3 separate regions of the Homo sapiens genome follow, and regions 1 and 3 are each linked to region 2. The links are contacts of gene promoters, found by promoter capture Hi-C in blood cells and fetal thymus (Javierre and others, 2016). All regions are on one chromosome and are shown on one strand. Each heading gives the region's core, a stretch centred on a gene start or on the middle of the fragment in contact. The rest is flanking DNA. Distances are from core to core; before and after follow the strand shown.

Region 1 (2,700 bases), core at 88-2,587, 3.4 Mb after region 2:
GGAAAAGGCTGAGAGGGAAAGCTTCAATGACTAGGTGACTTCAAAAAGGTCATCCTGGCCAGGCACAGTGGCTCACACCTGTAATCCCAGAACTTTGGGAGGGCCAGGCAGGCGGCAGATCGCTTGAGCTCAGGAGTTTGAGAGCAGCCTGGGCAACATGGGGAAACTCTGTCTCTACAAAAAATACAAAAACTAGCCAGACATGGTGGCGCGCGCCGCTCCTCCCAGCTACTTGGGAGGTTGCGGTGGGAGGGTCACTTGAGACCGGGAGGCGGAAGTTGCAGTGAGCAGAGATCACACCACTGCACTCCATCCTGGACGACAGAGCGAGACCCTGTCTCGAAAAACAAAAGACAAAAACAAAAACAAAGGTCATCCTGCAGGACAACCAGGAGGGCACAAATGTGTGTCTGTGGGAAGCTGAAATGTTGGCGGGGGAAAAAAGCAGGGAAAGGCATTCCAGAAAAAGGAAACTGTAAACAGCACACGAAAAAGCATAGTGAATGAATAGGAAGCCTGAGACCAAACTTAGGGTTTCCTACACTTATTTCAAAGCCCTTCATTATCTATATGGAAAGGGGGAGTCTTTAAACACAAATATTTAGATCATATTGACTGAGATTTAGATATAAATGAATGCTAATAATTACTTTTCGTTATTTTGGGGTGTTAAACATTTACTGTACAAGATTGTATTCGTTTTAAGTATCTTCTAACATGAGCCATTTTGTAATGATTCAGTTGTTTATATTCAATTTCAAGTAGAATGCTGATCACAGCGCCAAATGGGTATCTTCTACAGAAAAAGTTATTTTAATAAAGAAAAATATAGTCAGTTTTAGGATTTCCTGAGAGATTATAGAAACAATAAAAGCATTAAAACTGTTAAGTCATTAAATACGAGTACCTTGTATTTTGAAGGCTCTTAAAATTTAGTTTATAAATTGCTTTTACATAACATATGCACTGAAATACCACTTAAGATTAGTTTTGAAAATAGGTGTTCGTTTCAACCACATCATTAGGTATTTTATTCAAAGCTCTTTATAAAAAGAGCTTTACTATGTTCCAGTATAGTAAACTTATCCAGAAAATAAGACAAAAATTTAACTTCATGCTATAGCTGCAAAGTTTTCGGAAAGCGGGATTTAAAACTTCCATTGTAACTTTAACTAGCGGTCATGTCAAATTTCACAACTAAGAACATTTTAACGCATGTAATACTGAGCACAACATGGGCACGTTTTTGTTGCTATGAGAACCTTCTATTTTGTATTAGACATTGCAGCCTTGACGACGCAATGTTTGTGCTATTTTGCGCATGTTTTCCTGCAGCTATTCCTCTCCTCTAGCAATAGTCGAATGGCTCTGGTTTCCTCTTGCGCCCGGCCCAGTTTTTCCGTTTTAGCTTCGGTTGTCATAGGCTGTGCTGTCGCTTTCTCTGGGAAAGGACGGTGAAGACTGGACGGGAGAAACCGGGAGGGCAGGCGCGGCCGTTCTGCAGCAGCCGGGCCGCTTCCCGGCGGGAGGCGGGCTGCGAATGGGAAGCGGGAGGAGGAGGCCGGGCCGCGGGCTGGTTCTATCACCCCCTTGGGAGCCCAGCTCTTCACCTAGCTCTCCGGCGCTTTTCAAAATCTGCAGTTAACAACAAAAATCGAGCAACGCCACGTCGCACAAACAGGACAGGAGGGGGCGAGGGGTGTGTGCGCGCGCGTGCTGTCCCCAAATGGATGAGAAATAAGGGAAAGGAGGGGTTGGGGACCGTGTGATGAAGCAACATGCTAGGCCCGGGACAAGTCCGGCTCCGGCCTCGGGTCTGGAGGGACAAGGCCGGGGGCCGGGTGGCAGACGGGGCCTCTGGTCTTCCCCCAGCGCGAGGGTCGTGGCGCGAAACGGGGACAGGGCGCGCGCTCGGAGCCTCCTCCCCGCCCCGCCCCGCCCAAGGGTCTTCCTCCCCCGGGATTCAGAGCGGCCCCTCCTCCAGGCCAGGCTCGCCGCGGGGCGCTGAGCAGGCCGGGACACCGCGGCCGAGGTTATCGTTAGGCATCTCCCAGGCGACCGGCTCCGCAGCAAGATGGCGGACGAGAAGGACAGGGAAGGTAAGGTAGGGGAGCCGGGGAGCCGCTGCCCTCGCCGCCCGCCGCGACCCCGGGCTGCACGGGGAAGCGCCGGGTGGGGTGGGCCCTCGTCCATCTGGAGTTCCCACCCGCAGGGAAAGGGCGGCCTGAGGAGGGGGCCACCCGGCAGCAGCAGTCGCCCTGCCCCCGTCCCCGTAGCCCGCCCGGCCCGCCGCTCCGCCCCGCCCCGCCCCGCCTCTCTCCCCCGCCCCGCCCCGCCTCTCTCCCCTCTTCCCTCCCTCTTCTCTCTCCCCTCCTCCCGCCTTCTTCTTTCTCCTCCCGCCCTCTTCACCCTCTTCCCCTCCTCCCGCCCCGTCCTCCTTCCCCCTCCCTCGGAGGCCGGGCCTTGCATCCTGCGCGGGCTGCGCCGGAGGCGCCGGCAGGGGGTGCTGATAATGGCGTCGTTGTTCACGGTCGCGGGGAAGCCGCCGCCGCCTCCACACTCTCGCCTGGGGTCTCGGTGCCGCAGGCGCCACGCCCGTAGCTGTCCAGGCTGTGGGCCCCGGGGGGTGGCCTGGGTGAGGAGGAGTTCTGGCCGCCTGAATCTGACGGGATCCTCTGTTTGCGCCGAAACCCCGCGCTG
Region 2 (2,700 bases), core at 59-2,558:
AGATTTTTTAACAATGATACATATTGATACTGAGGAATTGATACATATTCTCTACATATTGATATTGAAGAATTCTCAAGCTATATGTTGTAAAGTGAGAAATATGATGTGGAAAAAGTTTTTAAATGTATGTTTAAAAAGAAAGGAAGGAAGGGAATGAGAGAGTGAGAGAAAGAGAGAGAGAAAAGGAGAGAGAGGAAGAACAAGAAAGACATAATCAACGTGTAGAAGAATACGGTAACCCACACACCAAAACAGTTGTTGTCTTTGGGCAGGAGGAATAGGTGGCCAAGGGTCAAGGTTAGCAGGATTACTATTCACCGTGTACTCTTTTGTGTCTTTAATTTCATGCCATGTTAATGTATTACCTATTCAAAATAAATAAAATACCTAATCATGCTTATCCACAAGGGGTCACTATTGAATGCCATTTAACTCTAGTTCCTAACCAGGGAAAAAAACGTTCTGAATTCTTTATGTGCTTAACAGGAAGTGAAGAAACAACTTCATTTATGTTCTTATTTTACATTACACCACATCATGTTCCAGAAAACAATTGCCATTCGCAAATCATGCACAAAAGTATAACATTTAAAACGGAGTGAAAAAGACAAAAAAGTGAATAGATAATATGAAGTCGGGAATGAGTTTACAGAAGCGTTGTGTCAGTCATCTCCCCTAGTGGTAATTAGACTCTAAATTTTCGATTCTAAAATTAGATTCTAAATTTTCTAGCATCTGGGCTGAAAAAAAAAAGGGGAAGTATGGTCAGTTACACAATTCAAAATGTTGATCGGGAGAATATTAAGACCTTGCAGAGAATTTTCCCTGGTAGAGCCTGTTAAAAACAATCCATGAGGACCCTTTAGATGAAATTTTTGATTGGTCTTAACCACAAAAATGATCCACAGATGAATTATGAAACCATGTCATCTTACTCTCTAAGGGAGGTATAAGATGTTTTTGGACTTCAGATGAGAAGGGCTCCATTCATGGTTAATCATGAATGAAAACGAAACTAAGAATATATGCTGTAGAAAAAGAAGAAGAAAAGCCACAAGACTGCTTAAAAATTTCTGTGTCTTACACAGAAGATAGAAAAAATAGAGTGTCTCCAATTGGATGGATTTTTTAAAAAATTTGGTTATTGTAATGGATTTATTTTTTCTTAGAGCTGAGCTGATTGTACTTTGGCCAACTAATGGGTTAATACTGTCAAGGGAAATTAGCCCTGACTAAACATTGCCGCTGGCTCATGAATGCACTAGGCTTGGGGCAGTATAAAAACTCAGAGAAATCAGTGTGTAGGAGACACAGAAATCAGTGTCACTCAGTGACAGAAGCAACAATAATTGTGAAAAATACTTCAGCAGTTATGGACTCATCTGTCATTCAAAGGAAAAAAGTAGCTGTCATTGGTGGTGGCTTGGTAAGAATTTTCAGATGGATTACTATTGTTGGTGGTATTATATTAACTATTATTACTCGTAATGATTATTATTCGTCACTTCTGCAAATTGTTAATTTTCTTGTGAAAACTCTGATATTTAAATACAGCTATTTTGTTTATTTTTTTAATATTTTTATTTTCATAGATTTAATATAGTATGAGTTTTAATCTGTTCTTTTTCAGGAAAGGTATTTTATAGCCATTAAATACAAAGGTTTCTGTTTTCCCTCATCATTTTGGTTTAGGATTTGTTAAAAAGCAAAAATAATGCAAATTGAATTTGATTTTATCCCCAAATTGGCTATGTTTTTAGGAACAGGAATTAGTCTCAATATTCATTTTAATAAAAACATTTGTTCCGCTTTGTTTAATAACTCAGTTAATGCTGTCTAATGAGAATAAAAGGGTCAAGAAACATGAAGCTAACGTCAAAGTATCATGTTGAATGTTCACTAGTTATATGAGTAATTGGGAATAAGATTTATGTGGTCGCCTGACTTACTTGACTCTTCCAGTGGAGCACCTAAGACAGTGGAGTGAGGTGTTCACCTCTCACTGAGCACGTGACGTAAAGGTGCTGGGGCTTCCCCCATACCTAACAAGACGGAAGGAGAGGTCACTCTCTGCTTTCATAGTTATGGTGCCAAAGGTAGTTCTGTTTAACATGGGTCTGCTCCGATTCAACTTTGCTTTTTCCCATCTCAGCAGAATTTCTGTTTCAGAATACAAACATCCCAGTTAGTCAAGGTTAAATCATTTCCCTATCACCTTTGGTCAAATCATTTGGAGACTTTTCATTAATTATTCATATATCCACTCAACAAAAAATTTATTGAGGGCGTAACACTGTTCTAGGCTGAATATAGATGGTATATTTTATGCCACACATGTATTTATACAGTATATGCTGTCTTTTGTTCTGCCTTCCTTAGTGTCTTTTCCCCAAAGTGCTAGAACAGTTCTTTTAATATTTCTGATTCTAAATTTTCATTTAGAAATGCTATCACATGATGTGTTGGTCACTGGTTGGGACATGTGTCGTCACTGCTTCATACTAGGCTTGTGTCCAATCTGTCCTATCAAAATGTTGCACAAAATGAGAATTCATGTGTTCAACAAAATCTGATTACTATGTACCAATATTGTTTTAGGTAGTAGGGATGCGAGGGTGAGAATTCCAGAGAAGAAAAAGACAAGGAAGAAGAAAACAAATAAGACAATTTCAGTTAAAGAGAAGCACTATGAAAGAA
Region 3 (2,700 bases), core at 31-2,530, 3.1 Mb after region 2:
ATCCATTTTCCACACAGCAACCCAAGTAATCATTTTTAAACACACGCACACTCATTTCACTCCCTGGTCCAAACTTATGGCTTCGTTTAAAATACAACCCCTGTTATGAATTTTAAAATCCTTCCGGGATCTGGCCTCTGCCTACCTGCCCAGCTCATCTAGTACCGTCGACTCCTTGCCTACTGTGTCCCAGCAAGAGTGATCTTTTGTTTCCTTGAATACAGAAAACTCCTTCATGCTTCAGATCTTTGCATTTGTTCCCTTTGACTGAAATACTCCTCCCCCTCATATCTGCGGGGCTGGCTTTGTCATTCACATTTCAGCTTAAAACTCATTACAGCGATCTTCCCCGTGCAGCCAATTTAAGAATGACTTCACCTTACTTAAATTTTCTGCAAAGCACATACCAGTGATATTTTGTATGTCCCTGTTCCTGTTTATCACGGCATTCCCGAGGGCCTACAACACTGCCTGGCACATAGGAAGCACATAACAAACATTTGTTGAATTAATGCAGAGCTGCATACTACGTCCCAGGATTGTGCTAAGCTACGGTTACTGTACCCTTCCCATCTCAGCAGGATAGTTTCACAAAATGTAAATTCCACATTGAGGATTAATTGGATGCACGTTACACCTCATCCCACACCAGTAACTCGTCTTCCTCTATTTCCCCACCACTCCCCTTGCCAAATAAAAGGTGAGGAAGCATTTGGAAAACTTAGGGTCATCACTCTGGTCTTTTGCCACATTTCGCTGGCTTCATCGAGCTCAACGCAACATGAACTACTAACAGCAGCAGCACCTGAGATGAGAGGGTGAATGAAGGTAGGAGATTTCACCGCCCGCGGGCGGCAAGGGATCTGCCGCAGCTCTAAAGCACTGCATGCTGGGAGTTGTAGTCTCCCGGGGAGGCCTGGTCTGGTAGGACCGGGGCCCCCGCGGCATGCAGGGAGTTGTAGTCGAAGGGCTGTTGAGACTCCGCCTCTGCACTTATAGTAGCAAGGGGGAATCCTCACTGCATGCTGGGAACTGTAGTCTTCCTGGGTCCCCGTTCCTCCAGGACGCGGAGGCGCCGGAGTTGCCGCCATTTTAGGTCCCGAGGTGCGCCGGCCGAGAACCAGAGCGCAGGCGGGCTCAGTCCTGGCGCCGGGCCGGCCCCGCCCCCGGGGCGCCTGGCGCCCGCCCCTTGCTCAAGCCCCGCCTTTCCCCACGTGTCTGCCGCCTAGGGGAGGTGCCTCATCCGGAGCGGGCCGCCAACGGTCCGGCCCCGTCCGCACAGACGCTCCTGTCGGCGGCGCCCGGGAGCGGCTCGGCTGCCCGATGCTTCCGCCCCGGCTGCCGCGGGCCGGGCTGTACGCTTAGTGCCCGGCTCAGGCCCCCTGAAGCGCCCGCGGGGGTGAGAGCGGCCTCCGGCCCCGCGGAGACGGAGCGGCTTGAGGACGAGGCGGCGGCCGCGGGGAGGAGGATGGGGGCTAACCAGTTAGTGGTGCTCAACGTGTACGACATGGTGAGTGCGGCCCCTGGCGGCCCCGAGCCCTGGCCCAGGCCGGCTTCCTCTCGCCCGTGGGGCTCGGACCCCGGCCCCAGGCGCTTCCTGCCTGGCGTCTCCGCCTCCAGCCTAGTTCTCGGGGGAAGCCGGGGGTGAAGGAGGGAGTATTGTTATTTTTTAATCCTCGCACTCGTCGACGCTCCGGTGAACCCAGTCAGCCCGAGGGTTTTGGCCAAAGCTCGGGTGGGCTTGAACCTCTCCCATCCGCTCAGCTTGGACCCGACCCCGGCTCTGGGCCCGACCCCTTGGCCGACGTGCAGTGTCCTTTCGGCAAAGCTTCCGTTGCGTTTCCAACCCCACTTGCCGGCCCCCGGGGCTGCCCCGGGACCCCCGTCCCGACCGCCTGCGCTCCCAGCTCCTCTGCTTCTGCCGAACTGTCCGTCTCTCTCCATGGCTACGTCTTCAGAAACTCCCAAGCCCCTCTAAGTCCAGAAGGTCACAGCTTTCGGGTGCCTGTGCTAGAATCTCTTCAAAGGTGAACAGGAGCCAACACACCCTTTCCTTGTGTGTTAAAGGCAACCTCGTTAAAATATGAATGAGGCTAACATTTCTCAAGAAAATAGCCCAGCTGAATTATTTAGAGATCCTGGTGGTGCTCCTTTCCTACACTCTGAAGACCACTTTCCAGGTGATGCAACAGGTGACGTGACCACGGGAGAGGGAAGGGAAGAAGTTGTTTATTGTATCATCTAACTTTGGAGTATGGCAAGCACGCAGAATCGAGTCCAAGAACTGGTTTGCCTGATTTTTGCAGTGAAATGCCCCCAGAAAAAAGCACCCGGTAGAGAATTGTCGTTGCAGTTAGATGCATGTTTGGGTGTGTTTGCTTGCTTTGTTCTGTAGAATGGGTTTTTGTTCTGTAGACTGGATTAGTACCTCTGACTGCAGTGCTTAAAATTCCTTGTAAGTTGACTGACAAATGAAAAATTGCCCGTCGTTATTTTTGTTGGCTTAAAGATGCAGGAGAGCAGAAATACTACAGGCCAAGAGTCTTATACAGTTCTAAACTTTGTATTCCCTTGTATTATTTATAAGTTTCTAAATTTACAGTGTTATTATATCTTGGGTAGAGTGGGATTTCTCATGCCATATCTGGGAATTGTGTCAGAAGGGTGTAGGAACTGCCTGCCACTTGAGATGAGTCCTCT

The links. Contacts are between HindIII fragments. The CHiCAGO score rates a contact against its expected background, and 5 or more counts as called.
Region 1: a contact is called between the fragment with the promoter of DRC8 here and the fragment with the promoter of KMO in region 2, in 1 of 17 cell types (monocytes). The highest score is 5.1, in monocytes.
Region 3: a contact is called between the fragment with the promoter of DESI2 here and the fragment with the promoter of KMO in region 2, in 1 of 17 cell types (neutrophils). The highest score is 5.9, in neutrophils.

Annotation. Positions count from the first base shown.
Region 1 is chr1:244,968,345-244,971,044 of GRCh38, forward strand. DRC8 (dynein regulatory complex subunit 8) reads left to right here and starts at 1,338. Exons shown (of 8, transcript NM_032328.4): 1 at 1,338-1,699; 2 at 1,985-2,099. The coding sequence starts at 2,075. LOC124900416 reads right to left here and starts at 2,226. Exons shown (of 4, transcript XM_054328428.1): 1 at 1,982-2,226; 2 at 1,911-1,980; 3 at 1-1,908. The coding sequence starts at 2,193. The coding sequence ends at 1,642. EFCAB2-AS1 (EFCAB2 antisense RNA 1) reads right to left here and starts at 2,525. Exons shown (of 2, transcript NR_111907.1): 1 at 2,468-2,525; 2 at 1-1,635. RefSeq lists enhancers at 1-192, 2,631-2,700 and silencers at 1,401-1,540, 1,811-1,990, 2,001-2,360, 2,371-2,460. The HindIII fragment of the contact is 4,895 bases long and covers 20-2,700 here.
Region 2 is chr1:241,531,070-241,533,769 of GRCh38, forward strand. It overlaps KMO (kynurenine 3-monooxygenase), which reads left to right and starts at 1,309. Exons shown (of 15, transcript NM_003679.5): 1 at 1,309-1,429. The coding sequence starts at 1,376. RefSeq lists an enhancer at 892-1,041. The HindIII fragment of the contact is 7,761 bases long and covers 1-2,700 here.
Region 3 is chr1:244,651,846-244,654,545 of GRCh38, forward strand. It overlaps DESI2 (desumoylating isopeptidase 2), which reads left to right and starts at 1,281. Exons shown (of 5, transcript NM_016076.5): 1 at 1,281-1,510. The coding sequence starts at 1,469. RefSeq lists enhancers at 1-525, 785-944 and a silencer at 1,025-1,794. The HindIII fragment of the contact is 4,542 bases long and covers 1-1,826 here.